Linked DNA regions of Homo sapiens: all the other regions are linked to region 4. Evidence: promoter capture Hi-C in 16 types of primary human blood cells and fetal thymus (Javierre and others, 2016). All regions are on one chromosome and are shown on one strand. Each heading gives the region's core, a stretch centred on a gene start or on the middle of the fragment in contact. The rest is flanking DNA. Distances are from core to core; before and after follow the strand shown.

What was found. The method cuts DNA at HindIII sites, captures the fragments that hold promoters and counts their contacts. A CHiCAGO score of 5 or more calls a contact.
Region 1: a contact is called between a fragment that was not itself captured here and the fragment with the promoter of IL21-AS1 in region 4, in 1 of 17 cell types (megakaryocytes). The highest score is 5.9, in megakaryocytes.
Region 2: a fragment that was not itself captured here is called in contact with the fragment with the promoter of IL21-AS1 in region 4 in 1 of 17 cell types (megakaryocytes); the score reaches 5.5 in megakaryocytes.
Region 3: a contact is called between a fragment that was not itself captured here and the fragment with the promoter of IL21-AS1 in region 4, in 1 of 17 cell types (activated CD4 T cells). The highest score is 5.3, in activated CD4 T cells.

Annotation. Positions count from the first base shown.
Region 1 is chr4:122,930,086-122,936,789 of GRCh38, forward strand. It overlaps AFG2A (AAA ATPase AFG2A), which reads left to right. Exons shown (of 16, transcript NM_145207.3): 4 at 3,354-3,412; 5 at 4,012-4,653; 6 at 5,629-5,758; 7 at 6,015-6,071. Among named protein-coding and RNA genes, the nearest start is that of AFG2A, 10 kb to the left of the region's middle. The HindIII fragment of the contact is 5,459 bases long and covers 505-5,963 here.
Region 2 is chr4:122,950,159-122,956,733 of GRCh38, forward strand. The region is part of intron 9 of AFG2A (AAA ATPase AFG2A); the gene reads left to right. Among named protein-coding and RNA genes, the nearest start is that of AFG2A, 30 kb to the left of the region's middle. The HindIII fragment of the contact is 8,286 bases long and covers 1-6,095 here.
Region 3 is chr4:122,306,519-122,313,436 of GRCh38, forward strand. BLTP1 (bridge-like lipid transfer protein family member 1) reads left to right here. Exons shown (of 88, transcript NM_001384125.1): 58 at 1,431-1,642; 59 at 2,748-2,946. Among named protein-coding and RNA genes, the nearest start is that of ADAD1, 69 kb to the right of the region's middle. The HindIII fragment of the contact is 3,592 bases long and covers 1,919-5,510 here.
Region 4 is chr4:122,617,012-122,623,361 of GRCh38, forward strand. IL21-AS1 (IL21 antisense RNA 1) reads left to right here and starts at 1,972. Exons shown (of 11, transcript NR_104126.1): 1 at 1,972-2,481; 2 at 2,957-3,154; 3 at 3,857-4,060; 4 at 4,184-4,310. IL21 (interleukin 21) reads right to left here and starts at 4,055. Exons shown (of 5, transcript NM_021803.4): 1 at 3,833-4,055; 2 at 3,690-3,725. The coding sequence starts at 4,000. RefSeq lists an enhancer at 3,142-4,341. The HindIII fragment of the contact is 3,552 bases long and covers 1-3,332 here.

The DNA of each region.
Region 1 (6,704 bases), core at 1,984-4,483, 310 kb after region 4:
TTAAGACTATGCAAGCAAAGAACCTGATTGTATATTTTAACTTGTTGATTATTCGATTTAGTAAAACAAACCGTCATTACTATCAGATTTTAAAATAATCCCTCACCACAGGGTAATTGTTTGAATCTACCTATCAAGGTAGTTAAGGTATATCATCCATCCTCCTGGATATTCTATTATCTAATAGGATATCGACTTGGTTTGCATATACAAGTCTTCTCAAAAATCATTTACAAAAAGCATCTTTTTATACTTTAATGTCACCTTAGTAATAGTTTGGGGGATGTGTTTACATTATATGTGAGAATTACAAACCATTTTCTAGTCATCAGCTTGATTTTAATATGTTCTCTTTTGCTACTATTGTAGATTTTAGACTTGAGTTTTGGCATATTTTTTCCTTTATAACAGGAGAATGTTTTCAGAGCTTATAGTAACAGTTTAATGAACAATAAAAAGCAGAAGGGACAGGAGACAATATGTTGAGTACCGGCTGTATACAGAAGCTTTGTATATATTGCATGTATGTATACACACACACACAGTTACCCTTTTCTTTTTAAACAGATGAAATAGTCTGAGGAGAACTTGCCTAATATTTTATGAGGTAGTTAATAGTACTGTTGAGATTAAACTGGATTATTCCTCAGACTATGTCTTAAAATGGTGCTACAGGTAGCAGTAATTCGTTGACTGGAATTAGCATTTATGATGACCTACAAACTAGTCAGACCTCTTGAGCGCACAGCAGTCTTAGGTGAGTAATGATTGCTTATTAGAGAGGACTGGATATGTTTTAAATGAAAGCTCAGGTTTTAAAATTTTGTTTTAAAAAATCTTATGTTTTAAAAAATCTTATGTTTTAAATGTGGCAGCAGAGTATAGACAAGAAAGTTAACTTCCAGTTGGGAAAATCAGTCATTTTAGTCTGCTTAAATCCTTCAGTTGCAACTGTAAGATTTTATTATTAATAGTAATGTTAGAGCTCCTTCTAGTGGAAATTATTTTATGTGCAACTATTATTTTTTTAAAAGCAAAATTGGTTTGATATTTTTACTGTTTTTACATGTATTTGTAAATACCTTCTATTCAGAGTTTAACAAAAGCAATTTAAGTATAACTTGGTTTAGAGTTCCATAAACAAAAGTAAATGTAAGCATTTAAGGAGATACATGCAATTTTCTCATTAGTTTATACATATATTTGATTCATGAAATTTCCCCCTCATTGTATTTCTCTCTTGTTCTCTCTTTTATATGAATATATAGTTGATTCTCATTATTTGTGGTTAGTTATGTTCTATTAAAGTTGCCTTGAACACCGTTAGCAAATACTGAACCATTTCTCCTAGAGGGAAATACGTATGTGTGTGTATATACATACATGCAACACACACAATATATGTAGCGTATGTATATATATAATATATATACATACACACACATTTTACATAGATTATAACCTTAAAACTCCAAAGTAATTCTTTCTGGTAGATTTTATTTTCTTTATTTTACAAAACAGAAGAGGAGATTTAGAAGTGTTAGAAATGTTAAGGGACTTGCCTGAGGTGCTAGTGCTGGGATTCACACTCCCTCCAACTGACCCCAGGCCTGGAGCTTCTTCACTACACTGCTGTGTCCCCTATCACTTCCATTCTCTGGTCATCTCTGAATGAAAGCTGAAACAAGGCAGAGTGTCACCTCATCCTACATGGTAACATGGGTGTTGGGTCACCCAAATTTTTTGCTGCTCTTCCATGTCACTAATGACCACAAATGCTCTGTGAGTATTGATTTTGGGGTACACATAAGTTTTTGGGAGTTGGTAAATTTGCAAATACAGCATCCACAGGTATTGAGGATTGACTATATTGTATTATTACTGATAAAAGTGATTGGAAGCCAGACGCAGTGGCTCACGCCTGTAATCCCAGCACTTTGGGAGGCTGAGGTGGGTGGATCGCCTGAACTTAGGAGTTCGAGACCAGCCTGGGAAACATGGTGAAACACCGCCTCTACAAAAAATATATATGTATAAAAATTAGCTGAGCGTGGTGGTGAGCGCCTGTGTTCCCAGCTACTCCAGAGGCTGAGGTGGGAGGATCACTTGAGCCTGTGAGGTGGAGGTTGCAGTGAGCTGAGATCACACCACCGCACTCCAGCCTGGGTGACAGAGCGAGACCTCATCTCAAAAAAAAAAAAAAGTGATTGGAGAACAAGGTATTTTTTGACCAGATGGGCACACAGGCACATGCCACCACGTCTGGCTAGTTTTCTTTTGTATTTTTTGTAGAGATGAATTTTTGCCATGTTGCCCAGGCTGGTCTTGAACTCCTGAGCTCAAGCGGTCCACCCACCTCAGCCTCCCAAAGTGCTGGGATTACAGGCATGAGCCACCATGCTCAGTTCCAATCACTTACACTTCCCCTTGAGCTAAACTGTCCCCCCTCCACTGGTCACTGACAGAACTAGACAGCTGTTTGTCTCCCCTCCTGATATGGGCTGCTTATGCACAAGAGGAGGAGGAAAAATGCTCATGTTCTGAGAACTCCTCAAGAGCAGATTTCTTTATAAATGTATGATATTTAGGTGTGTTCACTTCCTGCACTTAAGCAACTCTCTGGGGTGACACAGTTATCATTAGGAAGGAGGGGATCTCATTTTTCCTTGGTCATGCCCTTTCTCCAGAAAAAAACCTTCATTGTAACCATTACTCCTCTTTTTCCTACTTCTGCCTTTTCAAGTAACATACTGTATAGGACTTAATTTTCTTGAAGAAATAATTTGTAAGTTATACTGAGAGAGTGAAGTAAGTTATTAATTAGAGTCTTTCTCCAAGCTAGGCAACTTTATAAAGGGAATTATTAGTTTAGGTCAGCATTTTAAAAATGTTTTTGCCTATGACAATAAAAAATGGATTTTTCATCAGATTCTTTGTATATACACATCCATAGATAATAGTGCTCATATGTGTGCATGTGTGTATGTATGTGTTAGAAGTTAATGTTTTACAAAGCAGTATTTACCCTTTCTATATTCAGTGTACCCTGCATTTCTTATTCTATTAACAAAGTGCTGAATGAGGCTGACTGAAATGATTTCATTACCCTTGTGTTTTGAAGAACATTGATTTAGGCCACTAAGGCACCAGATTCCAAATGATATTTTCATGGCTATATGTTTCTGAAAAATGCCCATCATTTCAAAATTGTATACATTATTTATTTTAAGGTTGCAGGTGGATTATTCTTTTGATTAAGTCTATATTATAACCATATACATGTAATTTTACATCACAGTTTAGTTTCTGGTGTACCTAATGCTGATTTCTGTTCCCTTCTTATCCTTTTACAGTGACAAAGATATGGAAATTAATGAAGAAGAACTGACTGGTTGTATCCTGAGAAAACTAGGTGAGACAAATATTTTAAATTGTTTTCTTAAGTTTTAAGCTGCAAGGCATCAGCAAATAAAGTGTCTTTGAGGGCTTATATATGCATAGTAGTTTTCTTCAAAATAGCTTTGAGAATATTCCCCTCAATGAATGAATATACTTTTAAGATAGGGATGTGCTACTTTTCCTGGTTAATTGGCAGTTGAGCAGTGGAAAGAATATATGACTTGTCTGTGGAAAGAGTCAGTGGTAGAATTGAGACTTTTAACCTTTGCATTCTTGCCCTTTCCAGTGACAGATGCTATCTTGGAGTGTTGGTTTGGGTGTGCCATTTTCATTTAGTTTATTATTGAATATGGAATGCCTGGCTATTTGTTGATGTGATTGATAGAATCTGAGATCTACTGAGTGTGGAGGATTTCAGAGAATCATTTCCTTCTGTCTCCAGATGGTGTTATAGGGGAATATTAGGTCCTCAATTTTTTATGACAATTATTTTATTAATACTCTGTCTTTGATTTAGTCTTTTCAGATAATAGATGAAATATATTGCTATTTAAACATTAAACTGGTAAAAAAAATTATGCTAACATGTATATTTAATATACTGTTTTCTAGATGGCAAGATTGTTTTACCAGGCAACTTTCTGTATTGTACATTCTATGGACGACCGTACAAGCTGCAAGTATTGCGAGTGAAAGGGGCAGATGGCATGATATTGGGAGGGCCTCAGAGTGACTCTGACACTGATGCCCAAAGAATGGCCTTTGAACAGTCCAGCATGGAAACCAGTAGCCTGGAGTTATCCTTACAGCTAAGCCAGTTAGATCTGGAGGATACCCAGATCCCAACATCAAGAAGTACTCCTTATAAACCAATTGATGACAGAATTACAAATAAAGCCAGTGATGTTTTGCTGGATGTTACACAGAGCCCTGGAGATGGCAGTGGACTTATGCTAGAGGAAGTCACAGGTCTTAAATGTAATTTTGAATCTGCCAGAGAAGGAAATGAGCAACTTACTGAAGAAGAGAGACTGCTAAAGTTCAGCATAGGAGCAAAGTGCAATACTGATACTTTTTATTTTATTTCTTCAACAACAAGAGTCAATTTTACAGAGATTGATAAAAATTCAAAAGAGCAAGACAACCAATTCAAAGTAACTTATGACATGATAGGAGGATTAAGTAGCCAGCTGAAAGCAATTAGAGAAATAATTGAATTGCCCCTCAAACAGCCTGAGCTTTTCAAGAGTTATGGTATGATGTCTTCAGTTTATTGCACCCAAAAATGTTAAATTCAAATTAAAAGACAGTTGACACTTATGTAATGATTGCTCATCCTCTTTTCCTGTTTTTATTTTCTGAGTAGTAGGTATGGTAGAAGATTTCAGTTGCTTTGGGAGATGCCAGTTAAATGGGCCATTTGCTATGCTTTGGTATTTTTAGGTTGTAATGTGAATTAGTGACAGCCTTGTCTCTTCTAATAGCATATTTCCACAATTACCTGTATTGGATCTAGAATAAGTATCTTGTCATGCTGGGTCATCTGTAATGACTGAAGGGATAAACCATTCAAATACATTAGGTAAAACTTCTTAGGAAATGTAACTGTGTACCCATCTCTTTGCACTGAAGCAGGTAATTACGGGAATGGCTTGACTCAGGAAACTCAGGGCTTCTGCTGCATTGTTATTGCCAAGATCCTTTGCATATATTTGCTGTGTCTGATCTCTCTGCTTTTTTCCTTTCTCATAAATCTTATATATACATACATGTATGTATATATATGTATGTGTAAAATGAACCCTTAGATTGGCATTTTGCTCATACTTATGTACCTTTTATACTAGCAAACGTATGTACTCTTCAAGATGGTTAGTTGGAAAAAAACTGGGATTGGTGGCTTGTCTACCTGTGTTGTCTGTGCTTGGTTTTTCGATCATTGATCTGTGTTGTGTGGGATGGGGCGTTGCAACAATGTGGGTGTCCAGTTTTTTTTTTTTTTAACCAACATGCTTCCTCTGTTCTGTGGTCTACAGAGAGAGAAAGTCATTGCTGGGTATCAGTGTTTGGGCTAGTTAGTACATCTTTCTGGAGGGGGAGAAAAAACTCTTGACTCTTTTTGTGACGCAAGGTAAAGTTAAATTTTATAACTCATGTTTGAACTTGTATGACAACATTTATAAGAAACCTAGTAATGGTGAATCTAGTGTTTTCTACTTTTTCTTCCAGGAATTCCTGCCCCTAGAGGAGTGTTACTTTATGGTCCTCCAGGTACTGGAAAAACAATGATCGCCAGGGCTGTTGCTAATGAAGTTGGAGCCTATGTTTCTGTAATTAATGGTCCTGAAATTATAAGCAAGTAAGTACATGATTTAATAGAGTAAACTTACTATTAAATATATTTCTAAAATGTGGTTTTTAAAAATGATTGTGTAGTATTCTGTGTGATATTTTGTACACTGAAATATTTTGCTTCTTAATAAAAATTGTTTGGAAAATTCTTTTTGAAAGTAATTTTAAGTATTATAGAAATATTGAAAATTTAGGTTAGCTTTTATAGACAAAGCTTTAAAAACAATAAGAAATGGTCTTTAAATGTATTTTATTTGTTACAGATTCTATGGTGAGACTGAAGCAAAGTTACGTCAGATATTTGCTGAAGCCACTCTACGGTACTCTTTATTTTTAAATGTTTTGGAATTAATAATCAAGGCTGTATTAGTCAAAGTGAGATACTAGCACCTTATACAAAGCATAAACAGTAGTACAAAAATTATAGTGATAGTGGTAGAAGTAGATTATAGATCTAATGAAATTCTATTTCTATCTAATCTTTAAAAGTTTGATAAATATTATTAAATTACATAAAGTAGAAGAATTAAGACATAGTGTTTGATAAGTCATGTGACCTTGTTTGAGCATAGAAATCCATGACTTTCTTTAGGTGCTTAGGTGTTTCTAATATGCTTAGCTTTTCTAGTAGACTGTATTATTGTATGTAGCTCTTTATACTAGAACTTTGTTATGTTATACTTTGCTTCAAAGGGACAAATCTTTTGCCCATTAAATAATGACTCTGGCTGGGTGTGGTGGCTCATGCCTGTAATACCATCACTTTGGGAGGCCAAGGCAGGAGGATTGCTTGACCCCAGGAGTTTGAGACCAGCCTGGGCAACATAGTGGGACCCTGTCTGTTTAAAAATAAAAATAATTGGCTGGGTGCGGTGGCTCACGCCTGTAATCCCAGCACTTTGGGAGACCGAGGCAGGCAGATCACCTGAGGTCAGGAGTTTGAGACCAGCCTG
Region 2 (6,575 bases), core at 703-3,202, 330 kb after region 4:
GGTAAGCAGCGTGTCCACAGAGCCAACTCCTATAGGAGTTGTTTCAACAGTCCATTCAATTTGTTCAGTCAGCCCCACTGCTGTAGGGTTGTACGGCAGGTGAAAATGCCAGTGGATATCCAGGGCCTCTGCCTATTCTTGTACTTTATATCTGGTAAAGTACGAGCCCTAGTCATTGTTAATTTTTTTTTTTTTTTTGAGATGGAGTTTCGCTCTTGTTGCCCAGACTGGAGCGCAATGGCGCGATCTCGGCTCACTGCAACCTCCGCCTCCTGAGTTCAAGCAATTCTCCTGCCTCAGCCTCCTGAGTAGCTGGGATTACAGGTGTGTACCACCACACCTGGCTAATTTTTTGTATTTTTAGTAGAGACAGGTTTCACTATGTTGGGCAGGCTGGTCTCAAACTCCTGACCTCAGGTGATCCACCCGCCTCAGCCTCCCAAAGTGGTGGGATTACAGGCGTGAGCCACTGTGTCTGGCCCATTGTCACTATTGATGGAGACGCTGTAGGCTGCACACATCTGTTCTGGTCCTTTTATGGTGGCATGCTTGCTGGGTTATGCTCGTTGTAGCCCTGTGCAGGTTTCTGCACAAGTTAAGGCATAGTGGCAGCCATCCAATAGGGGCAAAGATCCTATGTAGTCTACCTGCCACCATTGTGCTGGGCTCTGGCCCTGGGTGATCTTTCTGGTATCAGGTGGCAAGGGCCTGGGGTGTTCCTGTGCACGGGTAAGACATTGCTGACAGATGTGTACTGTGTCTTTGTATCATAGTGGCAGGCTCCAATTCTTTGCTATGGCCCAAAGGGTAAGTTGTCCCCTATGTCCTGTCTTCTTTTGTAACCAGTTGACCACATCGTCTGTGGGGACTCCCTTGAGGAGACGAATGCAGGTTAATTTGTCTGCCTGTTGATTTCCAGGTTGGTGTAGATGCAGTGTGGGGATCCACATGGTAGATCATTTTATGCATCCCCCAGATGCAATGGGGAATGTCCTTCTACATGTCAGGGCACCAAAGGAGGTGACCTGCTACTGTCTAGTCCTGTGCTTCCCATTGTAGTAGCCACATGGTGAGTCCCTTTACATTGGATTAGGTAAAAGTAATCTAGAGATTATTTAAATTATATGGGAGGATGTACATAGGCTACATGCAAATACTGTGCCATTTTATATAAGAGGCTTGAGCTGTCCTTAGATTTTGGTATCTTAGGGGTCCTGGAACCGATACCCCATAGATACTAAGGGATGACTGTATCCTATCAGACTTTTCCAAAGTACACACACACACACACACACACACACGCACGCACACACATGTAATCAGATGCATTGTTGGCAGTATTGATGAAGACAATATTTATTGATATATCGTGCTGTGGAAATCAGGGAGAAATGTGTACTGGAGAATCACAATTTTCCTTAAGGAATGTCATGCCGGATGCCTGTTAACTTCAGACAGCCCACCTGTGAGTACACAGGACTGCTGGGTCTGGCTTATAGAGGAGGACCATCCTGGCAGCTTGCAGCTCAGCTCATTGGCTGCTATGTCCTTGGCCTGTATCATCAATCCAGATCCTGTCAGTGGATGGCTGGATGGCTATGCCTGCTCAAGTGCAAGGATTGCCTCGTGACAAGCTGTTTGTGTACCAGGCCTGGTCAGTCATTGGGCGGTCAGACATTGGGCCCTGTCTATCCTGTATGAAGGAGAGCATCTGTGGAGGCTCAGCAGCCTCCCTAAAAGACTATGTGACAGTTGTTACATAGATGACAGGGCCAAGCACTGAATGGAGCTCTGAGCTCAAGGGGCTATTAATGTGCTCCTTTGTTGCAGGTATGTAAGCCATTTGGCCACAGTCTGTGTCTGGGCATTCCCAGACTTCAGTTTCTGGAAGATACCCTTTAGCCAACCTGCTTTGGGGTACTGGCTGCATACTAGCATCAGGACCCCTTTTGTAATGTCCTCTACTTGTTGTAAGGCATAATGTATAGCACAGAGTTGTTGTTCCATCACACTGTATCTAACTGCACCCTTTTTCCGTAGCTGGGACCAGAATCCTAAAGGCGCATATGTATGTCTCTGCCTTTGCCACGGGCCTCACCCAAACCCCTCAAGGTAACTGGCTACATCTAGTTCACAGGCTGTCTCTGCACCTGAACTCACAAGGCTTGTATTTATTTCACTGTGACTTCAGCTGGTTCAAAGGCCTCATCCTTCTTCGTGGATTAGTCTCAGTGGGCCCCCTTCTTGACTAAACAGTATAGGGGTCTAAGGAGTTGGGCCAAATGAGGAATAAAATGATGCCCATACCCTAGGAGTCCTAAGAAGATTTATAGCTGCTTTGGTGTCACACGATGTGAGTAGGCCTGCACCCTATCCATAATGGCAGACTCAAGTATTTGGCTGATAAGCCTGGACTCTGGATTTTTGTCTGTGTTTATAGCTCATCCTGTTTGCCAGATGAGGCAGCAAGGTGTGAGGGCGCAGTTTGAAAGCTGGAAAAAGACTCAGAAGTTAGCACGATATCATCACTGTAATGGAAAATGTGTACCCCTTCCAGGACCTCCATGGCTATATAAATATCCCTGGGGCAAGATGGTAAAAGTCTATTGTTCTTCCCAGGTGAATGCAAATTGGTCTTGACTCTCTGCGGCAATGGGGATGCTGAAGAAGGCATTGGTTAAATCAGTAACAGAGTGGTAGTGGTATGTGTCCAGTGCCTCTCCCGCCCTCTTTAGAAGGGAGGTGATATTGGGAACATGTGCATACATTGGGGGGACTGCCTTACTTAATTCCCAGTAATCTAGTGTCATTGTCCATGTCCCATCAGGCTTCCACATGGGCCGTACATGGCTGTTGTATGGGCTGTGCACTGGCCTTGTAATGCCTCCTTGGGCTAACTCCTTAACAATCCCTGTGGTTTCATTATGTCCCCCCAGCAGGCAGTATTGCCTCAGTGCTACTACTTGCTGTGTGGGGTTGGCAACTAGACTGGTGTCCATTTCGCATTCCCCTTGGTCACATGCTTCACCACTCTCAGTCAGAACTCCCCAGCAGTTGTTTGGAGGGTCAAGCCTGATAAGATATCCATTCTCAAGATGTATTCCAAGATGGGAGCTATACATACTAAATAGGGTTTTGGTGGCAGTCTCTCAACTTGTAATACTCAGACAGTTCAACCTTTCTGATCCCCATCCATAACCATCTTTTGCCATTTTAGCCCCTTGGAACCAACGAATGTCACCATATATGAAAGTGCATTTGGCTCTAGTATCCACTAGGGCACGCACAGTGTGTTTATTCTTAGGCGACCAATATATAGTTAGTTCTACATGTGGCCTCTGGTCCCCAGGTACCCTGGCCACCATTACTCTTATCAGGGTTCTGGGGCCTTGGCTTTCATCCAGTCTAACAGGGTTGACACTTGCTATCCCTCTGCAGGAAGGGTGGCGGGCTGAACCTGAGGCTCCTTAGTGAAGCACTCTTCTGGTGTGAGCTTCTGCCACAGTCTGACCAGAACAGCATTAGGCTGTTTATCTGTTTTCATAGTAGCTGTTCCTGCCACTACCAGGTTGTGCCACATTTGTTGGTCAGTCACCCTGATGGGCCCCTTGGCCATCTCCTTTCCTTTGGCGCCCTTGTCTTTCATCCCAGCAGCACGTACCCTTTGCCTATGCAGTTTCTCCATTTCTCATAAGTTGGTGGCTGCTTGGGCCACCTGAGACACTGGCTGTCCTACTAGGGGGCTCTGGGTAGACACTAGCACACCATACCATTGGTTGAGTGCAGACTAAGATGGTGTCTTTCATGTTGGCAGTGAAAAGCTCTTTGTTGGACCTTGGTGATGTTCAGCATAGATAGCATGTTTCATCCCTAATTTCCAGATGATGTCCTGCAATTCCTCCATAGTCTGCCATCACAAAGGAGATATGGGGATACTGCCCTCATCTGGCCACGCTTCATTGCAGCCCACAACCACCCAGCTAAGGAGGGGCATGGCCTGATCCTCATTGTTGGCACCATAGAGGTGCTGCCTCAGGGCTGGGTGGCATGCGATGTATGCCATTCCACTCATCTTGAGTCTGGAGAGTATAACACCCTCCATCCCCGTGTCCCATAGACAGAGAAGCCACCTCTCAATCAACTGTCTCTCTTCCTGAACCCACCTTCTGCCCAGCTCCACTAGTTCCATAGTGGTGTAGTGCTGCATTGTGGTATGCTACCATCTTTCAGGCAGAGACAAGTTTTGTGGGTCTACTCCCTGCAGGCACCATTGGTCTGACTTTATCTTGGTAGAGAGAACAGGACCTCTATGGGCTTATCCCAGTCCTCACTCTGCTCCTCACTAGAGCTCTCCACTGGGTCCCTGGACTTAGGAAGATTTAGTCATATAGTCCTAACTTGGCATGGGAGCTGGCGACCCTTCAAACAGGCTACCTGACAAGCTGGGATTTCCATTTTGTCATCCTGTTTCTGCAGGTAGGACAGTAGGGTCTCTGATGTTTTAGGTTGAGCTAGTCTGGCATCTCTTTCTACTCATAGTTCTTCCTATAACAGACAACCCCTGGCCTGTGCTGGGAGCTCAGCCTCAGTGGCTGCTGGGAGCACAGTCAAGAATGGCCAGCCATTGTGGCTGCCACAGCTCAGGCATCTAACTTTTGCTTAGTTAGATCCACCCCCTGCAACAGCTCTTCCAGACCCTTCGGTGTTTTTGGGGTGTTCTGTACTCATACATTGGGTCCCATCCATCAAGGATAGTGGCTTTTGGGCACCACATAAATGTGATGGTCAGCCCGGGACCCCCCCTTGGATTTCCCCTTTCCTGATCTTACGGTCTCGGTGCTCATGAAATTTTTCTCCACCTTCCTGCTGGGTTCACCAGTTGTGGTACTGAGTCCGTGTTAACTTCTGTAAGGATGGCACCAGGTTCAAGAGGCAAAAGAGACCTGGAGCTAGCAAACAAGACATAGGGTTTTATTAGGGAGAACTAACATACAGGGACAGTCCAGTGGTGGTGGACTAGACAGGAGAACCTCAACTGCTTGCAAAAAGCATGCAGCTTATATAGCACTTTTATTTGGCACCCTCCGTGCAGCAGCCTTCACGTGGCAACCCTCCTTTCTTAAGTTATTGCTCTCAGGTGCATTTGCCATACACCCACTCCCACCGTAATGGCATTAATCCATTCCTGAGGATTAATGTTGTTACGGTCTCATGGCCTAATCGCCTCCCAGTGGTCCTACCTCTTAATACAATAAAAATATCAATTAAATTTCAACATGAGTTGTGGAAGGGACATTCAAACCATTGCAGTTATTTTAGAGCTTTAGTTCAGAAATACAAATGCAATAACTTTTACCTCCAAATCATTGACTCATAGTTGTCTAATTTAGTAGGCTTTGAAGACCCTGCCTTTAGTCTTTTTGACCTTTTATCTGGACTGATATATGTAGGGAAAGAGGCTCAAGAAGGAAAAACAGTTAGGAAAAGAAAACTTGGAAGAGATATTTAGGAATCTTTGAATATCTTACTGTTGGTGGAGAAAATCGTTTTTCTTTCATTTTATTTGATCATTACCACAATTTCTAGGTTATAGGAATCACAGTTGGGAGAGACTGCAGGTTATGTAGACTATCAAGGCAAATACAAACATTCTTTTGGTACATTTTGCTCTAGGACTGGGTCTCACTCTGTCTAGTTTCTGTGAAGCTGCTTCTAGCGTCACAGGGATTAGTGGGCCTGGTCGTAGAAATGGATTACCTAGGGATCAAAAAGCAGAAGTATCAGTAGATAGCTTTGCTTCTTTCATTGCATAAGGTGGTAATGAAGAGTCTGGATTGCTGTGTAGGTGTTGCTCTGTAGGACTTGCCATGTTCAGCATGCCTTACTAGAGACTTTTTGACTTTCTAATACATTTTATGCACTCTAGAAGGCTCTGGAATTTTTGCTGTCCAGAAATACACTGTCTGATGAAGGAAAGAGATTTGTAAACAACTACAAATATAATGATAAACTACTCATAAAAATGTAAAAATGTAGTGACTTCTGTGAGGAAAGCAAATACTGTGGTTAAATAGAAAAAATGACATCTAAGAAGAAGCTTAGAGTAGGAGTTCTACAGTGAGAAAGTGAGAAAAGGAAAACATTATTTGATTGAATCCTCCTACCAACCCTGTGATAGAAGTATCAGACAGACTCAAGAAAGGCCTCAGAGCGAGTATCCAGCAGAGCTGGGATTTAAAGCCAAGGTCATCTTACTTCAACTTCATGCTCTTAATTAAAACTAATAAAAGGTGGATCTTGTTTAGAGGGGTATAAGACTTTATAATTTAATTTTAGCGTATGATACTAAGGAGAGCATCAGTTGATAAAGTAAGGAGAGCATCAGTTGATAAAGTAGAAAATATGCAGGTGTTGAACTGATCTATTTTCCCCTAATCTAGCAATGAATCAGATTATGAAGAGTAGTTTTATTTATGTATTTATTTATTTTGAGATGGAGTCTTGCTCTGTCGCCCAGGCTGGAGTGCAGTGGCGTGATCTCGGCTCACTGCAAGCTCCGCCTATGAGGAGTAGTT
Region 3 (6,918 bases), core at 2,465-4,964, 310 kb before region 4:
TTTGCCTATGCTTCTTAGAGGAGAAACTAATTCTTGATTTGACTTTGAATTAGGAGTTCACCAGGGAGATAAGGAAATGAAATTTACTTTTATATCCCAGGGCCTAGAACAGTCCCTGGCATACAATAAGAACGAAATAAACATTGAGTAAGAGAGAATAAGAATGAATGTGTTTAAACACATAAGTCTAAGAAAATATAGCAGTAGGTTTCATAGAAGAAAATAATGGGAAAGAAGGCTGAACAGGTAGACAAGGTCTAATTAATGTGGATTGGGCAAATATATTTGAACTGTATTTTAGAAGTAATGAGGAGCCATTTAAGAAGCCATTTAAGATCTTCATCAGTGATGGACATAGGCTAGTAACAGAATCCTGTTAGAAAATTGCCCTTTTGGCAGTGTTACAGATAGCATTTTATTTTGCTGAATCCCATGTACATGTTTTTCAGTTCTCATTTTACTGACCTCTCATCAGCTTTCATCAGCTTCTTAAAGTATTTTGTACCCTTGGTGTCCTTGACACAAAACAGGTTGAGTACTGGTTTTCCAAAGTAATTGGGACAGGAAGTGTTTCAGATTTTGGATTTTTTCAGATTTTGGTATATTTGTGTATACATAATGAGATATCTTGGGGCTGGGACCCAAGTTTAAACATGAAATTTATTTATGTTTCATATACACCATATACACATAGCCTGAAGATAATTTTATAAAATATTTTAAATAATTTTGTGCATGAAACAAAGTTTTGACAGCATTTTGGCTGCAGTCTCACATGAGTTCAGATGTGGAATTTTCCACTTGTAGCATCATATCAACATTCAGAAAGTTTTGGGATTTTGGATTTCGGATTAGGGATGCTCAACCTGCATTTGCTTTTCCTCCTACTTCTCTGGCCTCTCCATCTTTATGTCCTTTTTAGAGGCCCCTCCATCTATACACTGCTGTGAAATGAAGGTTTTCCTTAAGGTTTGTTTCTGTTTAACAAACTCAAACATCTTTGACTTTTCTCTGTAAATCAGATCCTTTTAATGGTATGTTCCTAGCATTATGTACCTTAAAGAATTTTAAAAGAAGTAACAGCTCTACAGATGAAGTTAAGCACCATGTCTGTTTTCATTTGTTATTCCATCCCAGTATCTAACATATAATAGGCATTTCACAAATAAGTTAGAGGGAATGAACAGACCTGGATTTTCTTCTTCCTTGTGCCATTATGTGGTTGCCTGCTTTCTGTTTTATTTTTTCATTTGTTATTTAAAAAATGGTGACTATATGTCCTCTTAGATCTTTCCTAATTCTAATGCTACAGTTTTCTGGGTGTAATTTTTATTAAGCAACAGGATTTTGCAGCTTTTGAGTTTTACTTAACATATAGATTTACAGTGTTGATTTTAATTTTCTTTCTGCCCTGTCTTAATTATCAAAAGCTGTGCTGTTTTGGCTGAATTATAAGGCCGCCTATGACAACTGGAATGAACAACGAATGGCTTTACATAAGGATATTCATATGGCTACAAAGGAAGTAGTAGATATGCTACCTGGTATCCAGCAAACATCAGCCCAGGCCTTTGGGACTCTTTTTCTCCAGCTCACTGTCAATGATCTGGGAATTTGCCTACCTATCACAAATACTGCACAGGTACAAAAAGTCAAGTCATATTCCAGGATTAAGAGCCAGGCATTTCTACATAACCATTTCTAAGTATTTAGAATATAACAGTACATTTTTCAGTGTAACAGTTTATAACTGTTTAGTAGGTAGCAAGTAAGATTGAATTCCTTCAACCATTACTCATCTCAATGTATTAAATCTTAATCTCATGGGACTTTTCTCTGAAGCACTCTTATATGCTTCAGAATAGTGATAAGATTGATACCCCCCAGATAACTCTTAATTTTTACCTTCATAAAAAGAAGCTTAGTTTCAGAATCATTTTATTGTTTTCTTTTTTAACAAGGAAGTCATTGGTATGGACTTGTTTATAAGATGGAAATAAAAGGACATTTAAGAATACTGTTTAATGAACTTAACCTGTAATAGAATAGGGAATTCCAAAATGCTTTTATACTGTAATATTTAATGGTAATGAAACTTCAAAGCAGTGTGCACATAAACCAGGAATTTTCTCTTTGCAACTTAAGACCAATTTTCAGGAATATGTAACTGCATGCACATGTGTGTATGAGAGAGAGAAAAGGCTATGAACACCTGTCAGGCCAAGAAGCAACAGTTATTAACAATAGCATATAGAGATCTATATTTTACTGTTACAATTTACCTTAATAACTTGTAACCAGTTGTTGAATTAATTTATCTTTTAGGATTCTGTTCGGTAAGACAGTGTTAAGAAAAACTTCAGGTTGAGGATGGGTGGCATTGGTATGTTTGTGTTTCAGGAACTGAAATATAGTAGTTTTTTAATAGCATAATGGGCACTGCCTAGGAAGGCCATAAACACCACAGGTGGGTGGCATAGTGAGATCATCTCCCCACAACTAAAAGAGAGGCTTGAGATAGAAATGTAGATAGCCCTTTGTATGTTAAGTAAGAAAAAAAATGCACATGGCAAGTACATTGCACTTAAGCAATTTAATTTTTAAAAGGCATCTTTCTAAGCTGCTCTTTAATGAACATATCTAGGCTTGACCGTTTCTAGATTTCTATTCCTATGAATCCTGTGAGGATTTCTAAGTTTAAAAAATTGTCACCTTTTGTCTTATTTCTTCTTTAATATATTTTGCAGTCTAATCATACTGGAGACCTTGACACTGGTTCTGCTTTGGTATTAACCATTGAAAGTACTCTCATCACTGCATGCTCTTCAGAGTCTCTGGTTAGCAAAGGGCATTTCAAAAACTTTTGTATCCGTTTTGCTGATGGATTTGAGACATCATGGGATGACTGGAAACCAGAAATTCATGGGGATTTAGTGATGAATGCCTGTGAGTATCTTTTATTTCTATATACAGTTTAGAACTTAAAAAATAAAACATTAAGTCTCCATTTGTGAAATTAAAAGATGCTTAGATATAGCAAATGTTTTTAGACTTTGAGAAAGAAGGGCTATTTCTAGTTACAGGTAACAAACCATATTCGTGAAAAACTACAGCATTGAGTAGTTTTGGTAAGTAAACCAACCAGGCATTCTTTTTGGTACTATAACATTTGAATGTTTACACAGTCCCTGATTTTTCCTGTAATTGATCCATGTTTGACCAGATAAAGCATTTTTGACCTGTCGGAATCTTGAAAAAAAATGATAAATGTGCAATATCCAACTCACCATAAAACACAGAACAGGTTGTAAATAGCCAGGACCAGGAACGCCAGCCTTAATTAATATTGACGTGAATAAATCCACATGTTCAAATTTGTAGGAGTGCAGAGTGTAACATGAATTCCTGCAATTCCATAATATTCAAGGTTGGGTATAACTAAAGCTGTGTTTATAGGCCGTATTGAAGATACGGAATTTATTTGTATATATTTTTATATTTTAAATATTATAGCAGAGTTGGTAAAGCATCATTAATCTTAATAATAAAGAAAAATTATAAATAAGGAGTTAAAAGGTTATGAACTAAAATTCCTCAATCTTGTAAACTAAATTACTTACTTTTTAGAAAGCGGTAGCCCATTGTTTATGTAATTTTTTCCTCTCTCCACTAGAGGGAAATCTTTCTACTTCCCATTTTCTTTGAGGAATGAGAAAATTTCTATTATTTTTACAAAAATTGAAGTTTTAGCATTCAAAATGAAAAAGTCTTGGTTTTAATGTGTAGGGAAGGAAAAATATCTTTTCCTACTACCCTTTTAGGCTATTTGCTGGGGGGCTTGTGTAATAAAAGACCAATTAATGAGAGAAAAGCATACAGGTTTATTTAATATGAGGTTTTTTTGTGACATGGAGCCTTCATAAGGAAATGAAGATCCAAAGAAATGGTTAAACCTGAGTATTTTTATGCTAGGTTTGATGAAGAGTAGAGAGTTGTAGAGCAATGTGAGAAAATAAAAAGGGGTATGAGTTAAGCGTAGTAAACTGGGGGAAACTAACCAAGGTCTGTTTGTTCAGATTCATCTCAGTGTCCCTCCACTTTGGAGATGAGGATGCTCCTTTCCTCTGGGTATAGGAAGGGCATCTCTCACATGTGGTTCATATGACCTACTTCAGAAGAAAGTCAAAGTCCTTCCTGCATCTGCTGCTTCTCAAATTGCTTCAGTTTAAAATACCTTCCATATGACAAGGTGCCATTTTAGAAGGCAGTGTGTACTAAACCCCATCAAATACTTTGCATTTAGATAATTATAGGTAAAATACCAGTACTTATTTGAAATACTTCAGGTTACTGAGAAGACTTGATATGGAAATACTCATGCCTATTATCCAAAAGACCAGTATCAGCCTACAACAGAAATCTTTATAGATTTATTATTTTACACAATAGTTATACATGGCTTTTTAAAAATCACTAAAACATATCTTTTGTTTTTTTAATAAAAGACAAAAATAAATTTAAACTTAGTGATTTTTATTAAGGTGACAGCTTTACCATCATTGTATTTATTAAAATAAGTAGAATATATTTGGAAAAAAAGGAAGTAAACCATTTCCTTAACAGTTTATCTTAAAGGGCAAATGCATAAGATATAAAATGAGAAATACGCTCTGACTCAGAATCAGAAACATGCATTAAAAAATGAACAAATAATTTAGCACCTCAGTATATATTCTGTTAATACAGAACACTAACATGCTGGTAATCATGATACTCAGAATAATTTATTTTGGGTTTTAGAGGGGACTAACTGACATGCTTCTGTAACATGCTTATTGTTTGGGTTTCTTGGGAGGGGGCCAGAAGGAGATAAGCAGAGTAGTTATGTAACTGACATATTTATAAAACTTCCAAATGATAAAATGGACAAATTAGTTTACTAGCTTATAGTTTTTATTAGTAATAAGTATACCTCAATATTTTTGAACAAAGGTGATGTGTATAGGGCAGAGAAATAAGGAATGTTAGGATTATGCCTTAGAATTTTTTTAACAGGTCATTTTTAAAACATACTCTAAAAAAAAAGTGACCCAGTAAAATTTCTTCTCTAGGTGATAATGTTTATTGAGAAATGCATTAGAAATTAACAAGGACAGTCTATAGGAAGAGTTCAAAGAACGATTTAAGTAGATAGTAAATATTAGGACAATATCATGAATGTGTATTCAGACAAAATAAACCATCAGAAGTTTAGATGTCTGCAAGCTCTCTGTAAAACCTAGGTAGCCTTTGGTCATCAGAGCAGAAAAATTACCATCCTGCATTCAGCCTAATGGTTGCTCCAAGTCATCATTCTGTCTGTGATACAGAAACCACAGGTATTATGGGGAAGAGACTAGTTGATTTCTTAGTCCTCATTTTCAGGATTCAGATCTACATCTAAAAATCGTAATATTCCTTATTAATTCATCGTGGCTCTATATTCTATGAGTTTATATATTCATCTTTTAAGCTTAATGTTTTTGTTGCTTTTTAGAGACAGAATCTTGCTCTGTTACCTAGGCTGGAGTGCAGTGGTGCCATCATAGCTCACTGCAGCCTTGAACTACTGAGCTCAAGCAATCCTCCCGCCTCAGCCCCCCAAGTAGCTGGGACCACAGGCACATGCCGCCATACCTGGCTAATTTTTAAATTTCCTGTATAGATGGAGTCTCACTATGTTGCCCAGGCTGGTCATGAACTCCTAGCCTCAAGTGATCTTGTGGCTTTGACCTCCCAAAGCACTGGGATTATAGGTGTGAGCCACCACACCTAGCCTTTAAGCTTAATTTTTAAAAATTCTCTACTACTCCTTGGGATAGGAAATCCTAAAAGTTTTCTTCTCCCTTTTTATTTACTAATTCTTCCTTTCACTTGGCCTCAGTTATGTTATTCAGATTTCAAAGGGTTTTCTTTTCATTCTAGCATTCTTGGATTTGAAAGGGTAATGTGGGTCTTATTGTTCAGATTTGTAACCATGACTACAAAGGTGAATTGGGTGATACTCCAAAATCAAATCTAGTTATTTCTTAATTAGAATTTGTATGTGAGACACAGGTACTATACAGTTCAAAGGTATAATTTAGATGTTAAACTTATTGGCAGTCTTTAAAAAAACATAATAACAAGTAGATCCTCTCTCACAAACTAAGTTGTAATATTTCTAAGTTGGAAAGATTTTTCCCTTTTGAAATTTTTCAAAGACAGAAATGTAATACCAAATTACCTAAAATATGAATAGTAAGCTCAAATTTAAGTAACATTTGAATACCAATTTAGGATTCTCAGAGTGAATTACAAAAGGACATTAAAGATATATGTACTCTGGAGTTTAAATTGATATTTAGTTTCTTCTAAGGATGACTGAGGAAGGTCTTAATTCTATGTTTAGAGTTTACTTTGTTTAAAAGTTGTTTCAACTTTTACTATGTAAAATTGTTGAATTTAATTAACATCTTTTTTGAAGCTGAAGTTACCAGATTAAAGCCAGTTGGTAGTAAATGTTTCAAAGTTAAAGTAGATATATTCTGGAGATAGGTCCATGATCTTGAGATTGACATCATAGCCTTCAGCCATTTTTTTTCTCATAAAATGTTCCATGTCAAAAGAGAAGGTAAGACTGATGAATCATGTGTCTGACCTAATGTGGCAGCTCTTAGTTACCAAAATTCTATTTTAAGTCATTTGCATTCTCAAAGTGCCATTCATTTATGATAACAAATTGTCACAGCATCCTGGATATTAGTAGATAAGCCATCTAGAGTGTCAGAGTTGGCCAGGTGTTGTCACTCAAATAAGGAAATCACATGCAGAAAGTAAAGCTAAAACTGCAGTTAAATTATTTAAATCATAGAATAAAATATTGTGAAATATTTTATT
Region 4 (6,350 bases), core at 722-3,221:
CAGCATCTGGCCTGCTTTGCATTTTCCAACCCATATGCTTACCCAATATGAATGTAGATTAATAATATGCATCTCTAAGACACAAACCTATCAGGTTTGCTTTGCATATATAGCCACAAGCCGAGAAGCAGCTTATCTGGTTTCCTTATATCAAGGCAGATTGCCTCTCATAAGGGCAAGGTGGTGTCCTTTCCATATGTTTGCCAAAATGCTTATTTAATAGAAACTATTTATAAATGTTCAATATAGCACTTTTTTTTCCTTGAAAACCACACGTTCATGTTTGTTGAAGTTTTTTCTTTTCTCTTCTTTTTGACCACAACCGGCTTAACTTACTGGAAAAAATAATATTCATATTTAAAGAGGTAAATTTTCCAGCTGAAACTGAAAATACTGACTGCTTCATCCGTGATGATCTGAAAAACCAGCATTTCTCACAGAGGCTCATTTTGCTGAGTTAACATTTACATGTGTATGCTGAAAGAAAATTAGGTTCCAAAGAAGTAGAGGGGCCCTGCCAGCCAAATGAACTCCCTTGAGATAATATTGCCAGGAATGGTCAGTACCGGTACTCAAAGCACTGAAATTGTAAAACTACAATTTCAGTTGTAAAAACAACTGAAAATCTTTTCTGAAAGCCTTTGAATGGTACCTGGACACTGACGCCCATATTGATGGGGCTGTGCTTCCTCTCCCACCCTTCCTTGTTTACCTCTGTTAACAGACAATGGGGTTTTGTTTTCTTCTGTTCTGCAAGCAGCAGAGCTGTGTCTGGCAATATGTGGTCCAGGATAAATAACTGCGGGAATTGGCTTTATATGCACATCAAAGGCAGCCTCAAAAGAGGAAAAGAAGTAGAGGGCTGTCGCCACTAAACTGCCTTAAGGATGTATTGAGAAGGAGAGTGAAAAGATTAACCTTGATTTAGGCAGCCTCAGGTGCCCTATCACTCAGGAGTCTACAGGATGCCAACTCCATATTTAGCACTGTCTGGAAGCATGAACATTGCTTTCCTTTGCTATGCCTTGGTGACAACAGACTCCAAAGGCAAGACTTTGTTTCCCTCATGCTTTAACATATGAGAACATGAGGAGTTTTCTGCTGCTACATTGTTTTGCAGACTAGAAGGAGCGGTAGTAAAGTCAAACGCAAGAATTAACAAACCATTCCTCTTCAGCTGAAGAACAAGTCAAGTGCTGCTTTTGCCAGGAGTCACACTTGGCTTTGTTGTTTTGCAATTGAATTTTTGAAATTTTTTACCTCCTTAGGGCTTTTTTTTTTTTCTTTTGTAGAAACAGGATGTCTCACTATTTTGCCCAGGTTGTTCTCAAACTCTTGACCTCAAGCAATCCTCCAAACTTGGCTTCCCAAAAGGATTACAGGCATTGGGATTACAGGCAGGAGCCACTTCACCCAGCTGAGGCCTATTTTTACATTTTTTTCCTTTTGCAAAGAAAGCCCTGGCCATTCACACTAAGAAGTCTTGCTAATTGGGCAAGACTACCTTTGTCCTGGCTGGGTGCAGTGGCTCACGCCTGTCATCCCAGCACTTTGGGAGGCCAAGGCAGGTGGATCACGGGGTCAAGAGATTGAGACCATCCTGGCCAACATGGTGAAACCCCGTCTCTACTAAAAAATACAAAAATTAGCTGGGTGTGGTGGCGTGCGCCTGTAGTCCCAGCTACTCGGGAGGCTGAGGCAGGAGAATCGCTTGAACCTGGGAGGCAGAGGTTGCAGTGAGCTGAGATCGCACCACTGCACTCCAGCCTAGCAACATATCGAGACTCCGTCTCAAAAAAAAAAAAAAAAAAAAAAAAAAAGGATTACCTTTGTCCTACACACAAACTAGGTTTATATCAGGGTTTCTCAACGGTGATACCACTGACATTTGGGGCTAGATAATTCTTTGTTGTCAGGGCTGTCTTGTGCATTCTAGAATGTTTAGTACCTGGCTTCTACCTACTAGATGCCAGTAGCACCCCCATTCTACCTCCAAGTGTGACAACCAGAAATTTTTCCAGCCAATGCCAAATGTTTTCTGGGGCACAAAAATCACCACCGGTTGAGAACCACTGGTTATATGATTAGACGGAAAGAAAAAGAGAAAAAGAAAGATGCCTGGCTAGGCCAATTAGAGATCTTAGATAATTACTATATGCATGCAACATTAGATAGTTTTATTTTCATTAAACTTTTAAATCTTTTAAAATCTCTTACAGACCCTACTTTGAAGCTAGCTTGATATAATGCTAATGTGACCTTGAACGATTTCTTTCTTCCTGAGTTTGCCTACTAGTATAGCTTAAAGATCCAAGTTACACTATTACTCACTTATATCATAGCCAGCATTGCTTGATCAGATTATCAGATAGATACAGTATCACGGAGACAAAATCCTTTCATTATGATGTAAGATAAAAAATATCTTTCATTAACAACACACGTAAAGGAAGTACCCACTGGACCAACTCAGGTTAGAAGGTGGAATCTCTTTCTTATTTCTTATTTTGCAAGTTATAGACTACAGCCAGGAAACTCTGGAAAGAACTCTAACCATAACAGTTAAACAAGGTGCATGAGATGCTAGAAATGTATGTTTTGATAATTAGGCACATTGATTAAGAAGTATTTTCAGTTATTGGAAAAGTCTTTCCAATAAGCTGAATGTGCTACTTTCATTTTAGATGCTGCTTATTAGAAAAGGACCTAGTAAATGAGAGTGTTTGGGTTCAGAGCTAGAGAGTGAATTTTAGAGAAAAGCAATAGTTGTGACTCATTCACTTTCTAAACTTTTACACATAGTCATTTACGATAATTGTTTTCTTTGCAATGTATCTTCTTAAGTCTCCCCCTTTGTAGTGTCCTAATTACTGGTAGCACTTTTAGTTATTCTAATTTATGCAATTAAAGGTCTGTGACAATGAAAACATTTCCCCAATTGCATTTATACTCTCAGGGTACCAGACCAGAAGATCAGATCGTAGAAGTTACTGGAGAAAAAGATCAGCGGACAGCACTCTTGAACTACATGCCAGGCCTCTTCTTCCTGGAACTCTAATGGATTTAAATGGCTTAAGAGACGGGATGAATTGTTGAAAATGGTTCTTTCAAAAGACCTCACGGAAGGCCAAAGACAAGACTCACTGAGGCCAAGGTATATGTGAATTATATTCTGAAGGACAGCTTTGATTTCCACACCACCATTTCTCCATGCTGTCCCTGTAATCTAATTCTTTCTTTCTTTCTTTTTTAAGTTTGTTATTAAAAGGTTAATTCTGCTTCCTACTGTATGTATCTATGTTTCTTCGGTAGGATAACAAAGAAGGCTCAAAAGCTTTCATGCCCAAGGGCTCTTAAAGAGTAACTAGCTGTGCATTGTTCAGAAACTGATCAGAGTATAGATTTCGTTTCTAGTTTTGTTATTCTGTCTCAGCAATACTACTTAGGAGTACTCTTAGAGATTCTTGAAGATAAACATAGTTTATGAGGAATATAATATAGCATTTTTTAGTTGGTTTTTGGTAAATCAATGAATTTAACCAAAATATAAATAAATATTTCATCAATTATTAGACCGCTAAGTTCATTAAAATTCAGTATACTCCTATATAATCATGCTAATGTCTTTCTTATTGGATTTAAAAACTTATGTCCAATGTATTTTCAGAAATAAATTCAACTGGTCTTACCTCTACATCTTCTGGAGCTGGCAGAAATTCAGGGACCTAGAGCAAAAGAAAATTTGTTCTGAGTTATTTTTATAAGCCAAACCCTCCTTTTATATTAATTGAAAAGTATGATTTAGATTTTGTTGTGACAAATATAGTCTTACCAAGTCATTCACATAATTTTTCAGCTGATCAACAATATCTATAAGTTGACGCATTCTAATCATGTGGCGATCTTGACCTTGGGAGCTTGATTTGTGGACCAGTGTCCCCAAGAAGATGACCATCAGACAGATGACAATCCTCTCCATGTTGCCAGGACTGGATCTCATAAGTACCAACAGTAGAGCTAGACCTTGGTCTCGTTTTCACTTCAGCTTGACTGAGAACAGGTTGTCAGTTAAGCTACCTATTTATTCATCCTTCAGGGAGAGGTAAAGCCCTCCCATTGCAGCCTGGAAATCTTTGTAAAATGGATGAATGTGAGTAACTCTTTTTTCTTTTCCACTGGCTAGGTATACGTGTGCATGTGCTAATGTGTGGGGGCAGGGATTGATGGAGTCAACGAAATGTGCCCCATCTGCATCTTTGACAGGAAAAAGAGAGAATGGGTGAATTCCAATTTTCAGCATGAATCAAGAAGTATGTATAATAAACAGTAGGTACTACAAGACTTCAAAAAAGTAAACAAAAACACTTTGATCTCTTTTTCTCGGCCTCCCCTGGCATCTTACCTGTTCTCTCTGACAGTCATAAGGGCACTTTGATAATGAGTAAGATGGCAACATGTGCTTTCATGCAGGACTTTTTCTTATGGTAATAACTATGTCTTTTGACTAAAATCATCCAGTATTCCATCATAAAAGTAGGAGGAGAGGCTACCTTTTAGGAAATTTTAAATAAAGAGGTATTTTCCAAATTAGCAAGAATATTTTAGGTTCTTACCAAGTTTCAAGGGTTTAAAATAGAATTTGCTTCCAACTGTTCACCAAAGCATCTTTACTAAGCATTTATTTTGGCTTCTGTCATGTTATTTAACAATCTGATTTATTAATATCACAAATGATTCTAAGGGAGTTGATAGAAAATCTATCCTTCCCAATCAAGATCTCACTCTACCATCATTTTAAAAATTATCTAATGTCCATCTCTTCTATATAATACATCAATTAAATGAGTCAAACTTGCTAATGCTCATTCTTGTCCAAACCAAAAAATGTTTCCAAACAGCAAAATAAAATATACCCATAAATGATTCGTTTTCTCTTAGGGTAGTGTTACTTATTTCTGTTAGATACTATTTCCTCTGGGTGTGAGCAACACATTTCTAACTGCATCTGTGACCGGGTAGAGGTTAATTAAAGATCCAAAGCCCAGAAATGGTTTTATCATCCTCCTTTCTTCTGCTTCTCTTGTCCCTGAGACTCTTTTAACCCATTTGAGAAAGTTGAATATAATATTCTAGCTAGAGAGTCATGTACTATATAAGACCATAGGTCTTATAAGTGAAACTCTTGACTATAGATTTTATTCATTCATTCATTCATTCATTCATTTCATTACATACTTTAGAATACCATACTTTATTCTAGACTGTTACGTAGCCAACATAAATTGGAGTTTTCACTTGATTTGCTCTGAAGTTGACTGTAATCTTTTTATTATGGAATATCTATTCAAGAGTATACAGGTTTGGCCTTATACAGTAGATAAGAGTTCATACAACATGATCAAGAATTCCTCCCTGTAATAGTTAAATTCTATATGACAAGATTCTGTGCAACTTATGAATGCATGTGGACTAAGGGTTGCCACTTGGTGCCTCCACATTGCCTGTATGGTCTTTGTACATGCACTCCTTATCCACCTAAACAGATGTGCATCTCCTTGAAGACACTAACCACGGTGGTTAGGAGGTCAATTTCTAAAGCTTGAGTTCAAATCAAGGTCCTAACAATTAATAGCACATATGATCCTGTGTGTGTAATTGCAAAAGGAAGGCAAGTACAGAATCTACTCATAGGGTTGTGATAAGGCTTAAATGAGACATTCCAAGTAAAAGGGCTAAGTACAGCACATAACATCCCGGGAGGTTTGCATGCTGATCGTGGATGAGGGTGAAGGGGAGAACTTTAAGAAGCCTAGGGGAGGCTAAACTGATCAGAGAAGGAGGAGAATGGACAGATCAGTGTTCAGCCAGAATACACTTGTGTGGTTGTACTGGTGGTTTAACAAAAAATAAAAAAGTCAAATATCTTTCATACTGCCTAGAGAGAACCATTGCTCCTGGCCCTGGAGTGCCTCACCACTATGTTAGACAACCCAGTCCCTCCCTGAGACATCCTAGCCCTCTCCATAATCCATCCACCAGTACATCAGGGGTCTCAGAGTCTTGCTCCAGCACTATGACCAGAGGGCTTTCTGAAAGTCAGAATTTCTACCTTAAGTGGCACATCAGTTGTTAAGAATTTTTGGATATCATCTCTGGTGTGATAGACTTACCAATGCCCCAAAGATATCCATGCCCTAATCCCTGGAACCTGTGAAAATGTTACCTTACATTGACCCAGGGGACTTCGCAGATGTGAAAAAATTAAAGATTTTTTACATGGGAAGATTATCCTAGATTATCTCGTGGGCCCAGTGCAATCACAGGAGCCTTTATAAGAGGAAGGCAGGAGA